3 separate regions of the Homo sapiens genome follow, and all the other regions are linked to region 2. Evidence: promoter capture Hi-C in 16 types of primary human blood cells and fetal thymus (Javierre and others, 2016). All regions are on one chromosome and are shown on one strand. The core of a region is centred on a gene start or on the middle of the fragment in contact, and the rest is flanking DNA. Distances in the headings are between cores, read along the strand shown. Region 1 holds the start of SNRPG (small nuclear ribonucleoprotein polypeptide G). Region 2 has its middle 18 kb from the start of LINC01816. Region 3 holds the start of SNRNP27 (small nuclear ribonucleoprotein U4/U6.U5 subunit 27).

Region 1 (4,419 bases), core at 1,241-3,740, 150 kb before region 2:
GGATGAGCTGACTCCCTTAGAGCAAAGGAGAGACAGCCCCCATTACCAAATACCATTTTTGCCTGGGGCTTGTGCAGCTGGCAGTGTTCCTGCCCCAGCATGGCACCTTATTGTTTTGATAGCAACTTCGTTGAATTTTCACCAACTTATTACTTGAAATTATAATATAGCCTGTCCGTTTGCTGTTTCCAGGCTGTGATATATTTTCCTAGTGGTTTGACTTTAAAAATAAATAAGGTTTAATTTTCTCCCCACTATTGAGTCTTCTTTCCTTATATCTGGGTGGTGAATATGTAACTTTCTCAGGATGCTTCTCCTTTTAACAGGTTAAATGAGTTAAAATGTCCAGAAGAGTGGAAATTAGTTGTTATGGTTCAGATGCAGAACTGGTTCACTGTAAATGGGAAAAACTTTGAGAGGAGACTAGGACATTGTGACTTGAAGTTCATTAATGTAGAAAAGAAACTGTCTATGAGGCTAAAAAGAGAAATTCATTATCTATGTCAGGTCTCTAGCTTCAACTAAACACTAATAGCAAGTGGTAGTAAAGGTACAAAGCTATGACCCTGCTAGAAAAAATTCAGTGTCTAGGATTTTGAGTACTAAGAGAGTGCAAAATATGTGATGAGTTTAAGTCTTTACTATCATTGATATTTATATAGAGCCATTCCAGAATATCAGGAATTAACTGAATTTTTGAGAACTATCCCCTATTTAAACACAAGGTATTCTATTTTGGTTTAGTCTTCTATAATTTTGGGGTAACAACTGGGAACAAGTCCGAGACCACTTTTTACACATCTTGACATGAAAAAAGAACACCTTATATTAGAAAATGTTTGTGTGCTGCACTTCACATTTTATATACAGGGGCAATAGCACATCAGTGAGTTCTGGAGGTAGTGTTTGAAAAATTTCAGAATTCCCAGGCATGCTGGCTAACCCCTGTAATCTCAGCACTTTGGGAGCCGGAGGCAGGCAGATCTCTTGAGGCCAGGAATTTGAGAACAGCCTGGGCAACAAAGCAAGACCTCGTCTCTACAAAAAAAAATTAGCTGGGTGCAGTGGCGTGCGCCTGTAGTCTCAACAACTCAGGAGGCTGAGGTGGAAGGATTGCTTGAGGCCAGGAGTTCGAGGTTGCAGTGAGCCATGATCACACCATGCTCCCCAGCCTAGGCGACAGAGCAAGAACTCATCTCAAAAAAAATTTTTTTTGCAAGACCCCTCAGTCAGAAATAGATTCAAATTCTTGGAGACAGACCCAGTCACCTTACTCTACAATGGTTCAGAGGCTGCTAATTTACATGTTACGGGAACCCTACTTGGTCTGACAGTATGCTGTAGGGTTACCTGCCAAAAAAATATAGAGGCCCAGCCGGGAGCGGGGGCTCACGCCTGTAATCCCAGCACTTTGGGAGGCCGAGGCCAGCGGATCACGAGGTCAGGAGATCAAGACCATCCTGGCTAACACAGTGAAATACGGTGTCTACTAAAAATACAAAAAATCAGCCCGGCGTGGTGGCGGGCACCTGTTGTCCCAGCTACTCGGGAGGCTGAGGCAGGAGAATGGCGTGAACCCGGGAGGCAGAGCTTGCAGTGAGCCGAGATCGCGCCACTGCACTCCAGCCTGGGCGACAGAGCAAGACTCCGTCTCAAAAAAATATACATATATAGAGAGAGGCCCATTCCTCCAGGGATCATTATCATTTGGTATATTGGTATATATGAAGAAAATAAGCGATACGATCCACAGACATGCGGGATTGGCCGGGTTTGCCCAGGAGCTAGAGACGGGACCGTTATCTCAATATCTCAATTTTATTTTTTAAATAGAGAAGGGGTCTCGCTATGTTGCACAGGCTGGTCTCGAACTCCTGGGCTCAAGAGATCCAAAGTTCTGGGATTTACGGCGCCCGGCTTTTTTTATTTATTTATTTATTTTTATTTATTTTGGCTGTTCCATAGACAAGAGCAGGGATAACCGGCTGGGCGCGGTAGCTCACGCCTGTAATCCTAGCACTTTGGGAGGCCGAGGCGGGCGGATAACGAGGTCAGGAGATCGAGACCATCCTGGCTAACACGGCGAAACCCCGTCTCTACTAAAAAATACACAAAATTAGCCGGGCATGGTGGCGGGCGCCTGTAGTCCCAGCTATTCGGGTGGCTGAGGCAGGAGAATGGCGTGAGGCCGGGAGGCGGAGCTTGCAGTGAGCCGAGATCGCGCCACTGCACTCCAGCCTGGGCGACAGAGCTAGACTCCGTCTCAAAAAGAAAAGAAAAAGAGCAGGGATACCCACCGGTGGAATACCCGTTATCTCAATTTTGTACAAGGAAAACGGAATTCAGAAAGGTGCCTAGAGGACGCACCCCTCCGTCCTGGCCAATCGCTGAGGACATAACCGGAAGCTCAACGATGACCGAGGCGCTGAGATATCGCGAGGTGAAATGTAAAAACTGCCAACAATCCATTGGCTAACGAGGTCGATGACGCCAGACGCAAGACGCCGGGCCTACAGCGGGAGCGTGAGGAAAGCCGTGCGTTGCGTTCCAAGGCATCTGTGAGCCCGCGGAGTATACACCATGAGCAAAGCTCACCCTCCCGAGTTGAAAAAGTAAGTATGTGTGAGAGCCAAACCGAAGTGGTCAGTTATTTGCGTCCTGCGAGTCCCTTGGTTCCCTCTCCGTTAGCCGAATGTCTTGAGCCGCTTCACTTCATTTCTTCTTCCGGTCCGAGGTCGCCGGGATCCCGGCCAGGCTCCCGCGCATGAGACGTGAAGCCCGCGCAGAGCTCGCGCGTCGGTGTGGTTACAGCCGGCAGCCACGGCACCTCCTTCCGGCCGACTAGTCTCCAGGTCCCGCGGTCTGGCCCCTGGTCACCCGGCGCTGTCCCTCGTTCCTTGAAGATCTCCAGTGCTACCTTTTGTTGAACATCTCGAATAGTATCATGTTCTAGATAGACGGCTAGAGGGGGAAATTCTCTGAAGGAACTAAGGAGGGGCTGGAAGGGAAGGAAGTGTTTTTAAAACTACGTGAGGCATCAGAATCCGAAAGCCACTTTAGTCTTAGCAAATGTGTTTGTAGGTGTTTGAGCTTTTACTTAGAAACCTCATTCCTTTTTCTTGCCTTCTTTTACGTTAAGCTTGAATGTCATGTGTTATCTTGCTCTGATGTTGAAACTATATAAGAACATTCATTTTTCTTTTTTTTTAAGAACATTAATTTTTTCTAGTCAGAGAAGGCTAATTTTTTGAAGTTTTTTCTACACACCCAGTAAAGTCAAACAACTTTAAGTAGGAGAGCCTTACTTTAGGTAGGACTCAACGTAAAGCTTTGAATTCCTCAAATACTTTTTGAGTGGACTTAACAGGTTATGTGTTTCCTGACTACGTTTCTGTTTTGCTTATACTTCCTGATGCTGGAATTCTACATGTATTAGTTGGATTGCACAAAGGATGCAAAATTTTTACAGGGATCAGTTTTTTCTGGCGTAGCATGTGGTTGGCTTTGTGTATAGTTAGTTCATTTATTACCAGGCCCATGGAAGTCAGACAAAAGGTAAAGTTCCTATTTAATAATTTTGCGGCCGGGCACAGTGGCTCACGCCTGTAATCCCAGCACTTTGGGAGGCTGAGGCGGGAGGATCACCTGAGGTCAGGAGTTCGAGACCAGCCTGGCCAACATGGTGAAACCCCCGTCTCTACTAAAAATACAAAAAATTAGCCAGGCAGGTGGTGTGCGCCTGTAGTCTCAGCTATTCCGGAGGTTGAGGCAGGAGAATCGCTTGAACCCGGGAAGCGGAGGTTGCAGTGAGTCAAGATCGCGCCATTGCCCTCCAGCCTGGGTAACAAGACCGAAACTCTGTTTCAAAAAATAATAATATTTTTGCATTTAAAGGTCCATTTGTATCAAAGCCATCTTTTGTATGAAAACTACTTCTATGTATATTTTAGTTAGGTCTGTTAAGGAATTAATTATTAAAACATAAGCCCAACGCGGTGGCTCACGCCTGTAATCCCAGCACTTTGGGAGGCCGAGGCGGGCGGATCACGAGGTCAGGAGATGGAGATCATCATGGCTAAAACGGTGAAACCCCGTGTCTATAAAAATACAAAAAATTACGTGGGCTTGGTGGCGGGCGCTTGTAGTCCCAGCTACTCGGGAGGCTGAGGCAGGAGAATGGCGTGAACCCGGGAGGCGGAGCTTGCAGTGAGCCGAGATCGCGCCACTGCACTCCAGCCTGGGCAACAGAGCGAGACTCCGTCTCAAAAAAAAAAAAAAAAATAGAAGTTACTCAGAAATTATTGTGAAAATTACTCTTTTTATCTGAAAGTTATTTTTGGTGATGTAAGTATCCTCTGGATTCATCAGGGACTGGTGAAATGGTGATTTTTTTTTTTTTAACAAAAAGACCATTCTCTA
Region 2 (4,349 bases), core at 931-3,430:
GTTTCACCGTGTTGGCCAGGCTGGTCTTGAACTCCTGACCTCAGGTGATCCACCTGCCTCGACCTCCCAAAGTGTGCTGGGATTACAGGCGTGAGTCACGGCGCCCAGCCAGATTGCTAATATTTAGAAGCTACTTGGGGACCTCCAAACTCTAACTCCAAGAACTATCCACCCAAGAGATCTGTAGGCCTGCCACCTGACTTTCAAGGTACCAGATGTCATCAGCCCTGTGGCTTTGTGGGCCCACTAATTCCCAATCACCTAAATTCACCCCATCTTTCAGTGACTGCTGTCCTGGGTTGGTGCCAATGCCCTGCCCTTCCCTCCAGCCCACATGTGCATACACAAGCGCACACCATACATACTCCAGCCCTCATCCAACAGACACTGTTCTGTCAGAACCTCAGCCAGCTCCTCCTATCCCTGGTTCTCCCCTGTCCAAAAACGCCCAGAATATGCCCTCAGCTAGAAGAACCCAGAGAAATCTCACTATACCCTGCTGGAGGGGATGGGCAGGGGCTGCTCTCCCTAAGCTCTGTGAATTATAATAACTAGACCCTGTAAGTCACAGACAACACAAAAAAATCACCCACAGGGGGGCAGCCCTTTGTCTATTAGTGAATTTTCTCAAGAGATCTGCTTACCTGCTTCACCTATTTCTTCTTCCTTTAGCTCCCAGATTCTGATTTCCTGGTTTTCCTTTGTGGCAGATCATATTTTCTGACACTCGTAGGAATTTTTTTTTTTTTTTGAGACGCAGTTTCGCTCTTGTTGCCCAGACTGGAGTGCAATGGCATGATCTCGGCTCACCATAACCTCCACCTGCCGGGTTCAAGCAGTTCTCCTGCCTCGGCCTCACCAGTAGCTGGGATTACAGGCATGCGCCACCCATGCCCGGCTAATTGTGTATTTTTAGTAGAGACGGGGTTTCTCCCTGTTGGTCAGCCTGGTCTCGAAGTCCCGACCTCAGGTGATCCGCCTGCTTTGGCCTCCCAAAGCGCAGCGATTGCAGGCGTAAGCCACCGCGCCCAGCCTTGATTTTTTTTTAATCCTCCTTACCGACCTTGCTCCCTGCCTGCCTGTCTTCCCATCATCCAGTTCTGCAAGCGCCCTTCGCATCTACCATCCCACCTGCTGTACCAAGCGAGCAGGACGACTTACTTTATTTACAACAGCACTTCTCAAACTTCAATGTGCACAGGAATCACCCAGGGACCTAGTTAAAATGCGTATTTTGATGTAGAAGCTTTATTTTTTAAATTTTTTGAGACAGAGTTTCAAAAACGTGGGGGGAAAAGGGAAAAGATAGGTAGAAAATGATTCTTAGCACCCCCAAGCATCTTTAACCTTTCATTATGTTTACTTCCAGCCTTTTTCATGAAACAAAATTGTGGTCTGACTGTATACAGTGGTATTAACTACAAAGGTTCCTAAGAAGGGACATCTTGGTTGCCCAGGCTGGAGTGCAACGGAACAGTTTTGGCTCAATGCAACCTCTGCCTCCCGGGTTCAAGCGATCCTCCTGTCTCAGCCTCCCAAGTAGCTGGGATTACAGGCGCCCGCCACCATGCCCGGCTAATTTTTGTACTTTTAGTAGAGATGGGGTTTAGTAGAGACGGGGCCAACATGTTGGCCAGGGTGGTCTCAAAACTCCTGACCTCAGGTGATCCACCCACCTTGGCCTCCCAAAGTGCTGGGATTACAAGCATGAGGCATCGCATGCCGCCCGATTCAGAAGCTTTAAAGTGTGGTCCAAGATTCTGCATTTCCATCAAGCTTCCAAGTGATGCGGAAAGTGCTGGACAGCAGGGAGGCTGCTGGCCTGCAGACTGCACCAGACTGCACTTGGAGTAGCAGGTCTAATGCCTGATACAGTCCTGTAACGTCCCTCCCACCTTTCACTGTCACTCATGGGGAGGGCAGTGCTGGAGATGGGTGGAACTTAACAACTAGTGGCCAGGGCCATGTACCAGTGTCAGCTTTGTGCCACTCTCTCACCAAACTGCTCCAACTGCTGGGGCACTAACCTTGTTCCTTAGAACTAGTTCCCCACTCAGCAGTTCCAGAAGTACAAAGTGGGTTCTGTAGTTCTGTGAATTCCCTGCACAACTTTTCACTGTCTTCCCCACTCCCACCATCTTGCAGGTTCACAGTTTAGAGCCTGGGTTTGAAACCCCAGTCTGCCACTCTTTTATGCGCGGCCTTGGGCATGACTCTGAGCCCGTTTCCTCCGGATGATGTGAACAGTGATTAGATACCGTGGACGAATCACTCATTTTGTCCATTGTTTGAACTTTTCCTCTTCTACCTGTTCCTCTAAATTAGCCTTGAAGCTAAAAGGTGCTTTTTGTCCCTTCTTAGGAATCTTTGTAGTTAATACCACTGTATACAGTCAGACCACAATTTTGTTTCATGAAAAAGGCTGGAAGTAAACATAATGAAAGGTTAAAGATGCTTGGGGATGCTAAGAATCATTTTCTACCTATCTTTTCCCTTTTCCCCCCACGTTTTCTATAATTAACAATATTAACTTGATAGGTTTGAAAACAGTCAAAGTAAAATAAACGGCATGAAATCAAGCTTCCACCCGCTCCGCTGAGAGTAGGAGAAGAGAAAGAGAAACGCGCCGACCGCGCCTGGCTGGGGCTGGTCACGCGGCAGCCGCCCCCACGCCTCCGCCAGATGACGTAAGTCACGTTCTCCACTCGCCCGCGCCGCCGCTTCCGGGGGGCTCGGCTGCTTTGCTTCCACCAGGCGGCGCCGCAGGACGCTCAGTTGCCAATGCCTCCTGCGCAGCCGCCCTGGCGCACGGGACACGTCACCACCTTCGCGTCTTTTCTGGAGAGCGCGGGAATGAGAGCGCCGGAGGGTGGTGACGTCACCGGGGTTCCCTGCGTGGCTCGCAGGGGCGGGGCCAGGTACGTGGCGCGCTGCGGCCCGCCCGGGGATCGGGAGGGGAAGGAGAACAGAGAGGGGGAGGGGAAGGAGGGGGAGGGGAAACCAGCGGGACGGGGAGGGGCGAGGTGGGTGGTGCCGATGCCTAGTCTAGCCAGGGCTGACCGGGCCGCGCCCGCCTCGTGACCACTGTGGGGCTGCGCTGCGGGAAAGGTGCTGACGAGGCGGGCGCGCGAGCTCGGCGGGGAGGGGTGCGGCCGGTCGGCGGCTGGCCGGTCCCCGACTTCCCGGCACCCTGGGCGACCGCTCCCTCGTGCGAGCGGGACCACGCCTGGACCGGGGCCCGCAGGTTTTACAGGGCAGCGGGGGGGATTTGGGGCACGTGGGGTCGGGCCGCACCCCGACCTCGAGACGGCGCGGCGCTGCGAGCAAAGAGCCGTCGCGCCCGGAGCCAGGCCCCGCCCTACCTGGGATCCCGTCGCCCTCCCGTCCCCGGGCCTACACCCGCCCCACCTGGGATCCAGTAGCCCTCCCGCCCCCGGGCCTACACCCGCCCCGGTCAGCTCCGGCCAGGTCGGGGAGGAGGAGGGCACGCGCCGGGAGGACCGCGACTGGCCGCCTGGAGCCCGTGGCTCAGGCTTTCCCAGCCGCTGTTTTCCCCTTTGTACATCGGGATCCGCTTCGCACACTTAGTTTCTGCCTAGCACATGCTGGGTGTTGTGTCCAGATACACTAATTCTTTTTCCCCTTCTTCCCCGCCAGTCACTAGAGCCGGTCTGGAAGGGCACTAACGCCTGGGTAGTCCTTCAAACAAAAAGCGTTGTGTGTCTTGCTTACTGGCCGTTAATAGAAGTTTCCCCTTGAGAGTGGCTTTGGTTAGGAAAAAGGTGGCAAAGGGCCCATCCCTGAACTGATTAGTTGAGCCTGGGACCTGATCAGAATTGAGGGGAGGAGTGTTACCAGAATTTTCTCTGTGCCCCGCACTTGCATAAGTGCTTATGGCTAGGAGCCCTGTGTAGGGCACACATTACCTTGGGGCGCCCTTCGCTTCTTTCTCCTCTTGCTGCCCCTTCCCGGAATCTCTCACCTCATGACGTGACTATGGTCAAGTCATCGTTTCTGGGATGGCCTGACCCCTGGGGACACGCCAGCCTCCAGGAGCTTATATGAGGCTGGTTTACCAGAGTAGACAGTGTAAGGCCCTGTCCTGGAAGGAGGAACATGAATATGTCCTGAAGTGCTTGTGTCATGTGTCAGGGGTTGTGCTAGGCTTTTCACATGAGTGATCTCATTTGATTCCCACAGCGGTCCTGTGAGCTAGGGGGAATCATCATCCCTCTATGTAGTTGAGGAAACTGGTTCCGCCGGTTTAAGCAACTTACCTCACATTTCACAGTAGGGAGGTGATGGTTGTAGGGCTTTGGCAAGAAAGTGTCAGTACCTGGTCAGGCCCC
Region 3 (4,334 bases), core at 507-3,006, 250 kb after region 2:
TGGCATGTGCCTGTAGTCCCAGCTACTTGGGAGGCTCAGCAGCAGAATTGCTTGAACCAGGGGAGGCAGAGATTGCAGGGGAGGCGGAGGTTGCAGTGAGCAGATTGCGCCGCTGCACTCCAGCCTGGGTGACAGAGCGAGACTCCGTCTCAAAAAAGAGGAAAAGAAAGGAAAAGGAAAAGAAAAGGAAAGGAAAGGAACGGAAGAAAGAAACAAAAATATAAAATACTTATTTCTTTTTCTTGCCAAGCACCATGCTCTGGGGTTTGCATGCATTATTTCTTACTTACTCTTTCAAGACAACTTTGTGATGTAGAGTACTATTAGCACCATTTAACCAAGGTGAATGTTAGCTTTAGAATAAGGTTGGATTAAGTTTCCTCCATTTCAGGAAACCGTAAATCCCCTTATAAGCGATGAAAACAAAGTTAAGAGCTGCGACCAGTTTCTTAGGGACTTTCGGTAAATAAAACTCTTGGCTTATTTTCTGCCCTTACCGGGAGCGTCTTCGGTGCGGGGATCGCGAGCGGCTCCTTCTCCGATCTCTCTCCCGAGACCTGGACCTTTCTCGGCGCCTGCGTTCTCTCTCCCGGGATGTGGACCGGGAACGCCTACGTTCTAATGCAAACGCACACAAATTGCAGAACTGATAATTACCTCAAATATCTAGAGCTGCGCCGTCCAGTAGAAAAATAATGCAAACCATTACTAGTCACATTAAAAAGGTAAAAAGAGGCTGGGAGCGGTGGCTCACGCCTGTAATCCCAGCACTTTGTGAGGCTGGCGGGCGGATCACAAGGTCAGGAGTTCGAGACCAGCCTGGCCAACGCGGCGAAACCCCGTCTCTAATAAAAATACAAAAATTAGCCAGGCGTGGTGGCACGGACGGGTAATCCCAGCTACTCGGAAGGCTGAGGCATGAGAATCGCTTGAACCCAGGAGGTGGAGGTTGCAGTGAGCTGAGATCGGCCACTGCACTCCAGCCTGGGCGGGCGACAGAGCGAGACTCTGTCTCATTAAAAATAAATAAATTGATTTAAAAAAAAAACGAATCAGGGGCAGAACCGAGGGTCTAAGTTAGATCTCCTAATGGAAGTCCAGGGTTCTTTACGTCGCGCTGCCTCATTTATGGGGCTGGTAGCCAGAAAACATTACGAAGTGAGCTCCCAGGACTCAAAATTCTTAATATCGATTTCCCTGTAATGACCTGGGCAGGAATCTAACATTTATTAAGTATTTAAGAACCAGGCAGAATCACATACTGTATGTTATGGGATGTGACATTAATTCTCACATCAGTTTTTAAAAGTTGGCAATACTACCCTCAATGACTCATTCTGGGAATTCGATTCAGAAAGGCTGAGTAGTGACTTGCCCACCGTCGCCCAGAAATTCAGCAAAGGAACTGAGGTCTAATTCTAAACCCACCGGCCACAGTGTAATAAAAGTTATTGTATGAAGGTGACAAAGACTTAATGAAACTAATTCAGAGACAAACAACTGCCTTCAAACCGGAGAGGGCGGGCTGAAGAGGGCAGGGCCCAGGTCTACGTTCCTTTATCCACCCCTCGCTCTCCGCCTGGGAAAAGGGCCCGCCTCTCTGCTACGCGGCTACCAAAAACAAAACAAAATAAAACAAAAGGGACAGGCCTCCAACAGAGCCCCATATCCTCCGAATTGCTACAGGACTCACCCCTCCGTGGAGAGCGGCTGCGACTGCGACCCATTTGGAGTCCCGCTTCCCGGAAACAACTGTGCAACAACTTCCGGGAGGGCCGGGAACCGAGCTTTTACCGCCGACCAGAAAACGTCAAAACGAGTTGCGAGGGTTCCGGTCTTCTTTGTTCACGGTGGGCATTAAAACATGCGATTTGGTGTTATTATAGAAATTCCTGGAAAATTCAGCCGTATACCCATTATCCTAACACAGCTTTCATTTTTCCCCCATTTTTGTCCACATGCACAAAATAGAGCAAACCAATTGTAAACATAGCATAGACAAACAGCTTATGTTCTTCCACTTTTCCACATAACATTCATAAGGAGTGAATATACCAAAGTTCACTGTCCATCTGCTTTATATTTTCTCATGCCAGCATTGAGAAGGCACCCAAAACCTCCTATGGGCTCTTGGAAGGAAAACTAAAGGCCCCAGATTCCATCCTACCCGACAAAGTACTTCCCCAAAGTTGCCTCTGTCCTCAGGGAAAACAACAACAACAACAACAAAAACTTTAGAATGTTCAAAACTACAAAAATTAGGAGAAAGACTGTCTTGCCCCAAGGCTGAACCGTCTGTGGTAGAGCATAAATATGCTTACCAGGAAAGACTCAAACCTCTATTTCTTATTTTATTTTATTTTGTTCCAGGGTACATTTGCAGGATGTGCAGTTTTGTTACATAGGTAAATGTGTGCCATGGTGGTTCGCTACACCTATCAACCCATTAAGCCTTGCATCTATTAAGCTATTCTTCCCAATGCTCTCCCTCTCCCCAGCTCCTCCCCCTACAGGCCCCAGTGTGTGTTGTTCCTCTCCCTGTGCCCATGTGTTCTCATTGTTCAGCTCCTACTTATAAGTGAGAACATGCAATGTTTGGTTTTCTGTTTCTGTGTTAGTTTGCTGAAGATAATGGCTTCTAGTTCCATCCATGTCCCTGCAAAGGACATTATCTCGTTCCTTTTTATGGCTGTGTAGTATTCCATGGTGTATACGTACCACATTTTTTTAATCCAGTCTATCATTGATGGGCATTTGGGTTGATTCTATGTCTTCGCTATTGTGAATAGTACTGCAGTGAACATATGCGTGCAAGTATCTTCGTAATAAAATTATTTATATTCCTTTGGGTATATACCCAGTAATGGGATTGCTGGGTCAAATGGTATTTCTGGTTTTAGGTCTTTGAGGAAACACCACATTGTCTTCCACAATGGTTGAGCTAATTTACATTCCCACCAACAGTGTAAAAGTGTTGAACCTCTGTTTCTAATCAAACCAACTCTTTTCAGTCAGCTCTCTCTAGAATTATCAAGTCTAGTGACCTGGCTTTTAAAATACAAAGAGCTGGGGGATGGAAAGGGACTTTATTAGGTTGGAAAAAATGCCCACCAATCACATAAATTTTTAATTAGATTTATACATTCAGAGTGGCCTGTTTAATACCTGTCCCAACCCAAACTTCCAGGAAAGATCCAGCCATGACATCTAGGATTTCTACCAACAGCCCCAACCCCCAGATGCCTTTGGAATTACCCTGGCAAAGCATGCACTAGGTGTAGAATGGGGAGGTTCAAGGGAGGTGCAGACCCCAGGGAAGAAGATTTAGGGACATCATTGGAGAAACACACCACTAATGATAGCCAGGCGTGGTGACGCATGCTTGTAATCCCAGCTACTTGGGAGGCTGAGGCAGGAGAATTGCTTGAACCTGGGAGGTTGAGGTTGCAGTGAGCTGAGACTGCGCCACTGCACTCCAGCCTGGGCGACAGAGTGGGACTCCGTCTCAAACAAAAAAAAAAAAAAAGAAAGAAGAAGCACACCACTAATGATTGAAGAAATTATCCACAGGAAAGACAGGATTTATGGGAAGCCTAAGGGGGTATGTACTAGATGTGTAAGAGAGGAAGAACATGGTGGCCTCAGGTGGTGGCTGAAAATACTCTTTCTTTCTCTTTCTCTTTCTCCTTCTCCCCTCAGGGCTGGGGTCTCATCTGATGAAAATGCTTTTTAAGAAACCCCTCACCCGGCGCGGTGGCTCACGCCTGTAATCCCAGCACTTTGGGAGGCCGAGGCGGGCGGATCACGAGGTCAGGAGATCGAGACTACAGTGAAACACCGTCTCTACTAAAAATACAAAAAATTAGCCGGAGGTGGTGGCGGGTGCTTGTAGTCCCAGCTACTCGGGAGGCTGAGACAGGAAAATAGTGTGAACCTGGGAGGTGGAGCTTGCAGTGAGCCGAGATCGCGCCACTGCACTCCAGCTGGGCGGTAGAGTGAGACTCCGTCTCAAAAAAAAAAAAAAAAAAAAAAAAAAAAAGAAACCCCTCTAGGACTAAAAATGATTGGAAGGTATGCTGGGGATCAGTTGAATACACAAAGATTTTTTGAATGCATGCGATGCACAGGACACTATACCCCTTTGGCACTAGATTGAAAAGATGAGTAAGACATGGTCCCTGCCTCAAGGAGCTTGCACTCTAGCTGTGGAGGCAGACAGAGGAAGACACCTCTTCACTGTAATGTGGTAATATAAAATATGCACAGTGTGCTAAGGTGACATGAAAGAAGGCTATTCAGCCTAATTTGTCCAAGAGGGTTTCCTGGAATAATAA

The links. Contacts are between HindIII fragments. The CHiCAGO score rates a contact against its expected background, and 5 or more counts as called.
Region 1: a contact is called between the fragment with the promoter of SNRPG here and a fragment that was not itself captured in region 2, in 3 of 17 cell types (fetal thymus, activated CD4 T cells and naive B cells). The highest score is 8.3, in fetal thymus.
Region 3: a contact is called between the fragment with the promoter of SNRNP27 here and a fragment that was not itself captured in region 2, in 2 of 17 cell types (naive CD8 T cells and naive CD4 T cells). The highest score is 8.1, in naive CD8 T cells.

The regions. Positions count from the first base shown.
Region 1 is chr2:70,291,811-70,296,229 of GRCh38, reverse strand. SNRPG (small nuclear ribonucleoprotein polypeptide G) reads left to right here and starts at 2,490. Exons shown (of 4, transcript NM_003096.4): 1 at 2,490-2,612. The coding sequence starts at 2,581. LOC124906023 (a long non-coding RNA gene) reads right to left here and starts at 2,328. Exons shown (of 2, transcript XR_007086880.1): 1 at 2,298-2,328; 2 at 216-1,172. It overlaps FAM136A (family with sequence similarity 136 member A), which reads left to right. Exons shown (of 3, transcript NM_001329752.2): 3 at 1-254. RefSeq lists enhancers at 2,329-2,808, 2,825-3,732. The HindIII fragment of the contact is 8,673 bases long and covers 1-3,141 here.
Region 2 is chr2:70,141,238-70,145,586 of GRCh38, reverse strand. No RefSeq gene overlaps it. Among named protein-coding and RNA genes, the nearest start is that of LINC01816, 18 kb to the right of the region's middle. RefSeq lists silencers at 1,959-2,008, 2,939-3,648, 4,136-4,349 and enhancers at 2,339-2,478, 2,489-2,848, 4,069-4,349. The HindIII fragment of the contact is 804 bases long and covers 1,779-2,582 here.
Region 3 is chr2:69,891,378-69,895,711 of GRCh38, reverse strand. It overlaps SNRNP27 (small nuclear ribonucleoprotein U4/U6.U5 subunit 27), which reads right to left and starts at 1,756. Exons shown (of 6, transcript NM_006857.3): 1 at 1,694-1,756; 2 at 498-618. The coding sequence starts at 1,727. RefSeq lists enhancers at 261-1,195, 1,394-1,453, 1,196-2,131. The HindIII fragment of the contact is 14,817 bases long and covers 1-4,334 here.